2 separate regions of the Homo sapiens genome follow, and region 2 is linked to region 1. Evidence: promoter capture Hi-C in human tissues and cell types (Jung and others, 2019). All regions are on one chromosome and are shown on one strand. The core of a region is centred on a gene start or on the middle of the fragment in contact, and the rest is flanking DNA. Distances in the headings are between cores, read along the strand shown. Region 1 holds the start of FZD8 (frizzled class receptor 8). Region 2 has its middle 180 kb from the start of LINC00993.

Region 1 (4,558 bases), core at 494-2,993:
TTTATGACAAGAGTTGTTTCTGAACGGACAACCACGAGCTACCACCACCACCAGCAGCGCCCCGAAAACCGGAACTGGCCTCAAATGTACTTTTAATTCTTTTGCTCTGTCCCCACGCCCTCTGCAACTTTTGTTCTCCAACTGTACTTGTTCCGGTATGAAACCTGGCAAATAGCAAAAATCTTGAAACAAGAAGAGAGTGAGAGAGCGGAGAGAAAAGGGAGGGAAGGAAGGAGAGGGAGGAGGGGAAGAGGAGGAGGGGGGAGAGAAAGTGGTGGGGGAGAGAGAGAAGGAAAGGAGGTGGGGAGAGAGAGAGAGGGAAGACAGAAGAGAGGCAGGGAGGAAGAGGGAGAGAGGGGGACGGAGATGGGGAGGAGGCGGGAGGGAGGGAGAGAAAGAGAGAGAGAAACATATTCTGCCACCCTCCTGGCTAACTGAAATGCTTGTTCCCGAGATTACAGTAATTACTGCCCCAGCATGAGTTCCATACAAGCGCTAAATGAAACAGCACATCAATTAAAAAATAAACACTCCATTCTAGGAGAAAGACAGCCCCCTGGGACGCCCTAACAAGCGTAAATGAACCTGCCAGGCCGCCGGCCCGGGCCGCCCGCAGCCCCCCTCCCGGCCCGTCTTAAGGTGGCGGCGGAGCCGGCGGGGGCAGCGTTCGCTGGCGGTGGCCCAAGCGGCTGCTAAAAGCAGCCCGGGTCCGGCTCCGGCCTCGTGCAGAGAGCAGATACGTGTCGCGGAGTCCACGCCAGAGCGCAGCGCCGCCTCCCACCAGAGAAAAGGAGGCTCTGGCAAAAGCCTGTGAACTTGGGATGGATGAATAGACGTCCTGAAAGAACGAAGGGAAGACAGGGAATCCAGCCCCAGAGTTTCCAGCCTGTCCTATTTATAAGTTTCGAGGTTTGTTTTGAATTTTAGAAAGAAATTGAATGATTTTTCCTAAGAAAGCACGGCGGCTCGGGGCTTCCTATATTTTATCTCACCTAATTATCAAAGCCCCCTTGGAGATCTGTGCTATGATCACCCAACTCTCTAGGTGGGGAAACTGAGGCTCCCCCAGGTCACGCAGCGGAGGCGGGAGGAGAGTCTCTGGCGGGCATTTGTCCCCCGCGCCCCTCGCGCGCCCAAGGCTGGGCTCCGGGGCATCTCACCCGGGCCGTCCCGGGTCCAGCCCCAGTTTAGAATGACTCCACACCCCCCACATCTCCAAGTCTCAGAAACCATCGTTCTGAGAACCCCAAGGAGGACACCCTTTCCCGGGTCTTCTGCAGCGCCGAGCCCCGGCAGGCCTCCCCGGCGCTCGCCTGCTGCGAGACCTTCCTGCCGCCCCGAGGAGCACGAGACCCCAGCCGCCTGCAGATCACCCACATTTGCGGAGGGTGGCAGCAGGGGCTTGGCTGGTTTGAAACGCGCCGGGGAGGCGCGCGCTGCACCAAACCCCGTCCCTGTCCCCAAGGGCAGACTCGGGGTAAGGGGACCAAGACCTCCGACGCACTCAGCGCCATGGGGACAGCCATGGCCAACACTCTGTCTCTGCGGTCAATCCCAAGGTTACCAAAACTCTCCATCCGCAGAGAGCGCGCACAGCAGTGCGGACACTCGGGGACTGCCTTAAGGAAGGCTGAGCCCTGGGAGCGCGTGGACTCCGCCCTACCGCCCGGCGATTGGCTCGCGGGGCTGGGGGCGGAGACCGAGTCCGCGCTGTATAAATATTCATGAGCCGGCAGCGCGGCGCGAGCGGGGCTGGAGCCGGGAAGTTGGGCTAAGGGCGCTGCTCCCGCCGAGGAGGAGGCGGCGGCTGGGCGCGGGCCGCGCCACTCAGGTGTCCGCTCCGCCTTCCGGTCTGGATTTGCTCCTGGGTGTCCAGCAGGAAGGAGACTGTGTGCACCTCGCCCGACTGCGGCCGGAGCGCGGCGCTGACTTTTCCAGGCGGCGGGGGTCCGTCTGTCCCGGCGGCGGACGGACGAAGGACGGACGCCGGAGAAAGAGGGCGGCGGCCTGGGCCGAGGCGGGTCCCCAACTCCGGCGGCGGCGGCGGCGGCTTGGCCTTGGGGGCGGGCATGAGCCCCCGGGGGCCGAGTGGTGGCCGCCAGGGCTGACCCGGCGCGGCAAGCGGCCCGGCCCAGCCATCTTGACTGCGCACCGCGGCCCCAGAGGAAACTTGCGGCGCCTCCGCCCTCTCTGTCCGGCGGAGTCACCGCCGCCCGGCGCGGCGGGGAGAAGTGGTCGGGCGCGCGGAGAGGAGGCGAGCGAGCGCGGGACGATGAGCCGAGGCCCGGCCGCTCTGCGCCGCGAGGGCTGAGCGCGACCCGGGGCCAGCAGAGCGGACCTACGGACTGTGGCGCGCGCCTGCAGCCGCCTTCAAACCCCCGGAGCGGCGGAAAGGAGTGCGGAAGGGCCCTGCCCAGGCTGCGGGCCGCGCCGCTGCGGACGCGCCCCTAGAAGGGGTTAGATTATCGGCAGACCCCCCTCCCGGGCGAAGCATAAGGGAGACCCCAGATCACCCGCTGTACCCGTCTGCGGCTCTCTCGTGGGCCCCCCCCCCGGCACCCCTCTGCGCGCCGCCTGGAGGGCGAGGGCACCGGGCCGAGGCGCACAGCATGGAGTGGGGTTACCTGTTGGAAGTGACCTCGCTGCTGGCCGCCTTGGCGCTGCTGCAGCGCTCTAGCGGCGCTGCGGCCGCCTCGGCCAAGGAGCTGGCATGCCAAGAGATCACCGTGCCGCTGTGTAAGGGCATCGGCTACAACTACACCTACATGCCCAATCAGTTCAACCACGACACGCAAGACGAGGCGGGCCTGGAGGTGCACCAGTTCTGGCCGCTGGTGGAGATCCAGTGCTCGCCCGATCTCAAGTTCTTCCTGTGCAGCATGTACACGCCCATCTGCCTAGAGGACTACAAGAAGCCGCTGCCGCCCTGCCGCTCGGTGTGCGAGCGCGCCAAGGCCGGCTGCGCGCCGCTCATGCGCCAGTACGGCTTCGCCTGGCCCGACCGCATGCGCTGCGACCGGCTGCCCGAGCAAGGCAACCCTGACACGCTGTGCATGGACTACAACCGCACCGACCTAACCACCGCCGCGCCCAGCCCGCCGCGCCGCCTGCCGCCGCCGCCGCCCGGCGAGCAGCCGCCTTCGGGCAGCGGCCACGGCCGCCCGCCGGGGGCCAGGCCCCCGCACCGCGGCGGCGGCAGGGGCGGTGGCGGCGGGGACGCGGCGGCGCCCCCAGCTCGCGGCGGCGGCGGTGGCGGGAAGGCGCGGCCCCCTGGCGGCGGCGCGGCTCCCTGCGAGCCCGGGTGCCAGTGCCGCGCGCCTATGGTGAGCGTGTCCAGCGAGCGCCACCCGCTCTACAACCGCGTCAAGACAGGCCAGATCGCTAACTGCGCGCTGCCCTGCCACAACCCCTTTTTCAGCCAGGACGAGCGCGCCTTCACCGTCTTCTGGATCGGCCTGTGGTCGGTGCTCTGCTTCGTGTCCACCTTCGCCACCGTCTCCACCTTCCTTATCGACATGGAGCGCTTCAAGTACCCGGAGCGGCCCATTATCTTCCTCTCGGCCTGCTACCTCTTCGTGTCGGTGGGCTACCTAGTGCGCCTGGTGGCGGGCCACGAGAAGGTGGCGTGCAGCGGTGGCGCGCCGGGCGCGGGGGGCGCTGGGGGCGCGGGCGGCGCGGCGGCGGGCGCGGGCGCGGCGGGCGCGGGCGCGGGCGGCCCGGGCGGGCGCGGCGAGTACGAGGAGCTGGGCGCGGTGGAGCAGCACGTGCGCTACGAGACCACCGGCCCCGCGCTGTGCACCGTGGTCTTCTTGCTGGTCTACTTCTTCGGCATGGCCAGCTCCATCTGGTGGGTGATCTTGTCGCTCACATGGTTCCTGGCGGCCGGTATGAAGTGGGGCAACGAAGCCATCGCCGGCTACTCGCAGTACTTCCACCTGGCCGCGTGGCTTGTGCCCAGCGTCAAGTCCATCGCGGTGCTGGCGCTCAGCTCGGTGGACGGCGACCCGGTGGCGGGCATCTGCTACGTGGGCAACCAGAGCCTGGACAACCTGCGCGGCTTCGTGCTGGCGCCGCTGGTCATCTACCTCTTCATCGGCACCATGTTCCTGCTGGCCGGCTTCGTGTCCCTCTTCCGCATCCGCTCGGTCATCAAGCAACAGGACGGCCCCACCAAGACGCACAAGCTGGAGAAGCTGATGATCCGCCTGGGCCTGTTCACCGTGCTCTACACCGTGCCCGCCGCGGTGGTGGTCGCCTGCCTCTTCTACGAGCAGCACAACCGCCCGCGCTGGGAGGCCACGCACAACTGCCCGTGCCTGCGGGACCTGCAGCCCGACCAGGCACGCAGGCCCGACTACGCCGTCTTCATGCTCAAGTACTTCATGTGCCTAGTGGTGGGCATCACCTCGGGCGTGTGGGTCTGGTCCGGCAAGACGCTGGAGTCCTGGCGCTCCCTGTGCACCCGCTGCTGCTGGGCCAGCAAGGGCGCCGCGGTGGGCGGGGGCGCGGGCGCCACGGCCGCGGGGGGTGGCGGCGGGCCGGGGGGCGGCGGCGGCGG
Region 2 (4,091 bases), core at 1,445-3,944, 1.8 Mb before region 1:
AATTAATTAATGAAATAAAAGCATTTTCAACTTACAATGGTTTGTTGGGACAGACCGGAATCATGTAAGTCAGGAAGCATCTTTTATCTACTTTGCCAGGTTGTTTTAAGAACATAGACAGTGAGTGACTGTAAAACACCTAAACCAAAGGCAGACAATAAATAGTAGCTACTGTTGTTGTCATGACTTTTTCACTTGTAAAACAAGATCACTTGATTAGTTTTATTTGAGCATCAAATAAAAGTATACTTTGGTTACTTCATTGTTCTGATTATAAAATTATAGTAATTCTTGGCCAGGCATAGTGGCTCACACCTGTAATTCCAGCACTTTGGGAGGTCAAGATGGGAGGATTGCTTGAGGCCAGGAGTGATACCAGCCTGGGCAACATGACAAAACCCCATCTCTACCAAAAATACAAAAAATTAGCTGAGCATGATGGTATGCGCCTTGGTCCCAGCTACTGGGGAGGCTGAGGTGGGAGGATTGCTTGAGCCTGGGAGGTTGAGGCTGCAGTGAGCCATGATGGTGCCACTGCACTCTTAAATGGGTGACAGAGTGAGACCCCATCTCGAAAGAAAAAAAAAGGAAAAATTCATGGTAATTCTTTACCTAAAAAGCTGCAGAATACAGAATGAGTCAGTCAGCACCCCAGCTTCTATGGCTCAAGGCAAATCACCTTACCATTCCTAAATCACTCCTCGGTTAAAAAAAAAAAAATGTACCGGTGGCAGTGATTGCTAGAGCATTTATTAAAATAATTTTGGTCAAAGGAAATACCAAAGTTTATCATTAAGATTCCACAGTGACCCTGAATTCTATATTGAACATCTTTCTTTGATCTCCTTTGGAAATCGTCTGAATTTTTCCCTTGGGAGGCTCAGGAATCAATTTTTGTTGATCTTGTTTATACTATAGAGGATGCCAAACTTCAAGCACTGAAGGAGGCTCAGGAATCAATTTTTGTTGATCTTGTTTATACTATAGAGGATGCCAAACTTCAAGCACTGAAAGATACATCCAAAATGAGCCTGAACACAGTGTCAAGGTTCGACTATAGACACATTTCACCATTTTCACTTTCGTCAGTAGACAAAGAAGCTGACATTATCTCTAATAGCCCAAAACTGGAAACAGCCCAAGTGCCCAACAAGTCAAGACTGTTTCCACAAAGAAATGGAGTATCAGCATTTCACTGAAGATAAAGATCCTGTTCAAAATCATATCAGGGGGCCAGGCGCGGTAGCTCTTGCCTGTAATCCCAGCACTTTGGGAGGCCAAGGTGGGCGGATCACCTGAGGTCAGGAGTTCAAGACCAGCCTAGCCAACATGGCGAAATCCCACCTCTACTAAAATATACAAAAATTAGCCAGGTGTGGTGGCATGTGCCTGTAATCCCAGCTACTCAGGAGGTTGAGGCAGCAGAATTGCTTGAACTTGGGAGGTGGAGGTTGCAGTGAGCCAAGGTTTTGCCACTGCACTCCAGCCTGGGTGACAGAGCAAGACTTTGTCTCAAAAAAAAAAATCATATCAAGTAAAAAATTAAAACGAAATAACAATGATTGTATTAATCTAACAACCAGGTTTAGAAATTAACAAAGGGGAACAGGACCTTCTACATAGATAGTAGATGCTGATATGAAGATTTGATCTTGATCCCCAAGAATGCAGTTTTCTGATATGGTTTTATCTTTAAATACATGCGGGGATTTTTTTTTTCTTGCTCTGTCTGCCAAGCCTTGGGGCACCACCCTTCTAGAACCACCTTAATCCAAGTTCAAATCTTGGTTTTACAAAAAATGTTTCAGAGACAAGATCTTGCTGTCACCCAGGCTGGAGTGCAGTGGTGCCATCACAGCTCACTTCAGCCTCAAACTCTTGGGCTCAAGTGAACCTCCTGCCTCAGCCTTCTGAGTAGCTGGGACTATAGATGCATGCCACCATGCCCAGTAAATTTTTTAAAAAATTCTTCTTGTAGAGATGGGGTCTCACTATGTTGCCCAGACTGGTCTCAAACTCCTGGCCTCAAGTGGTCCTACAGCAGCCTCCCAGAAACCTAGAAATACAGGCATGAGCCACTGTACACAGCCTACATACATGTTTTCTGGGTAAGTACTTGGTTATCTTTACAAAGTAACCCTTCCTGTAGTCCATGCTGATTGAGCATCTACTATGTATCAGGCATTATTAGGGAAATAACAAATAATGGTGAAGTGCCACTTGTCTTTTTTTTTTTTTTTTGAGACAGAGTCTCCCACTGTCACCCAGGCTGGAGTGCAATGGCGTGATCTCGGCTCACTGCAACCTCTGCCTCCCGGGTTCAAGCGATTCTCATGCCTCAGCCTCCTGAGTTGCTGGGATTATAGGTGCCCATCACCACAGCCAGCTAATTGTATTTTTAACAGAGACATGGTTTTGCCACGTTGGCCAGGCTGGTCTTGAAATCCTGACCTCGTGATTTGCCTGCCTCAGCCTTCCAAAGTGCCGGGATTATAGGCATGAGCCACCACACCAGGCTGTGAAGTGCCATTCTTTTGGAATTGACATTCTAGTGTGGGACACACACAATAAATAAATCTGTGACTATATCCCTTTATAAAAAACAATGTTCACTTTTAAATTTTACAGCCACGACATCAAGTAGGTACGGGTTTAATGTGTGCATCAGATAGATGAGCAAACAAACTTGGCTGACACCAGCCAGCTGTAAGTGATACACACACCTGGGATTTGAACCTAGGTCACCTGGTACTTCTCCCTTGCTAACAGCAGGTTAAGTAATTTAGATAAACTCTTCTACAAAAGACAACTTAAAAAGCCAGCTGAAAGATTTGTTTAATTTCCTTAAGAGGATCAAAATGATAATAAAGTGGTGAAGAAACATCTGCCAAAATTGAGGCCAGGACAAACCCAGAAGAGGTTCGCCCAGCCCACAAAGCTTTTATCCTAAGGCATTTTTCAATCTGGAAAAAAATAGCTTTGAAAATGAGCTGTTTTTTCCATAGTCTTACAGGGTAAAAGAACACAATTCAAAGCCCAGGGTCTGCCAAATTTAGGGATTCAGATACACCACTCCCCATGTCAAGCAGGGTCCGCAGGGTCAGGGAGGAGGGCAAGTATGCAGCCCTCAGGCTCACAGACAAGTTCAGATCATCTGGGAGGTCCAGGAGTCTCAAACTTTGAACTTGGATTAAGGTGGTTCCAGACTGGTGGTGCCCCACTGGCAGACACAGCTAAAAACCTATCTGGAAGACTCCACCATTATTCACGTATATACATATATATTCATACATATGTAATGCCCAATACCATCTAACATAATTCAGGTACTCAAGAAAGCAGGACATTACAGCCCAGCTTGTTGGTTCATGCCTGTAATTGCAGCATTTTGGGAGGCTGAGGCAGATGGATCACTTGAGGCCAGGAGTTCAAGATCACCCTGGCCAATATGGTGAAACCCAGTCTCTACTAAAAATACAAAAATTAGCCAGGCGTGGTGGCGTGCACCTGTAATCTCAACTACTCGGGAGGCTGAGGTAGGAGGATTGTTAGAGCCAGGGAGGTGGAGGTTGCAGTAAGCAGAGATTGCACCACTGCACTCCAGCCTGGGTGACAGAGCAAGACTCCGTCGCAAAAAAAAAAAAAAAGAAAGAAAAAGAAATAAAACAAGACATTAAGAGCTAGGATGGCAGGAACAGCCAAGAGTGCAAACGGGCTCACAGAGACTTTAGAAATGAGAATTCTTAGACACAGGCCATAAAACAACTCTGTTTACTGCCTTCAGAAACATAAAAGCCACACTTGACAATTATGGCAATTGGAAACTATAGAAAATGACACAAAAGTTTTTTAAAGGGCCAACTAGAAATTCTCAAACTGAAAAATACAGTCATTGAAGTTAAAAAGCCAGTGGCTGACTTCATAGCAGATCATCTCAGCTGAAGTGAGAATTAGTGAAGCAGAAGACAGGTCAGGAAAAAACTATCCATAATTCAGCTTGAAAAGGAAAAAAAAAGAAGGAAAATATAAAAAGGAGAGTGGTTAAAAAGATCTAACATTCATTTAATCGACATACAGGAAGAAAGAAGAAT

What was found. Contacts are between HindIII fragments. The study calls those that stand out against the background at their distance.
Region 2: a contact is called between a fragment that was not itself captured here and the fragment with the promoter of FZD8 in region 1, in 1 of the 25 tissues and cell types used here (dorsolateral prefrontal cortex).

The regions. Positions count from the first base shown.
Region 1 is chr10:35,639,481-35,644,038 of GRCh38, reverse strand. FZD8 (frizzled class receptor 8) reads left to right here and starts at 1,743. Exons shown (of 1, transcript NM_031866.3): 1 at 1,743-4,558. The coding sequence starts at 2,610. LOC124902528 (zinc finger protein 469-like) reads left to right here and starts at 1,193. Exons shown (of 2, transcript XM_047426128.1): 1 at 1,193-1,409; 2 at 1,626-2,311. The coding sequence starts at 1,193. The coding sequence ends at 2,311. MIR4683 (microRNA 4683) reads left to right here and starts at 2,787; the gene lies at 2,787-2,867. LOC105376494 (a long non-coding RNA gene) reads right to left here and starts at 724. Exons shown (of 2, transcript XR_930820.3): 1 at 1-724. RefSeq lists silencers at 3,195-3,284, 3,824-4,118 and enhancers at 3,395-3,554, 4,374-4,558. The HindIII fragment of the contact is 11,910 bases long and covers 1-4,558 here.
Region 2 is chr10:37,482,517-37,486,607 of GRCh38, reverse strand. No RefSeq gene overlaps it. Among named protein-coding and RNA genes, the nearest start is that of LINC00993, 180 kb to the right of the region's middle. The HindIII fragment of the contact is 5,492 bases long and covers 1-4,091 here.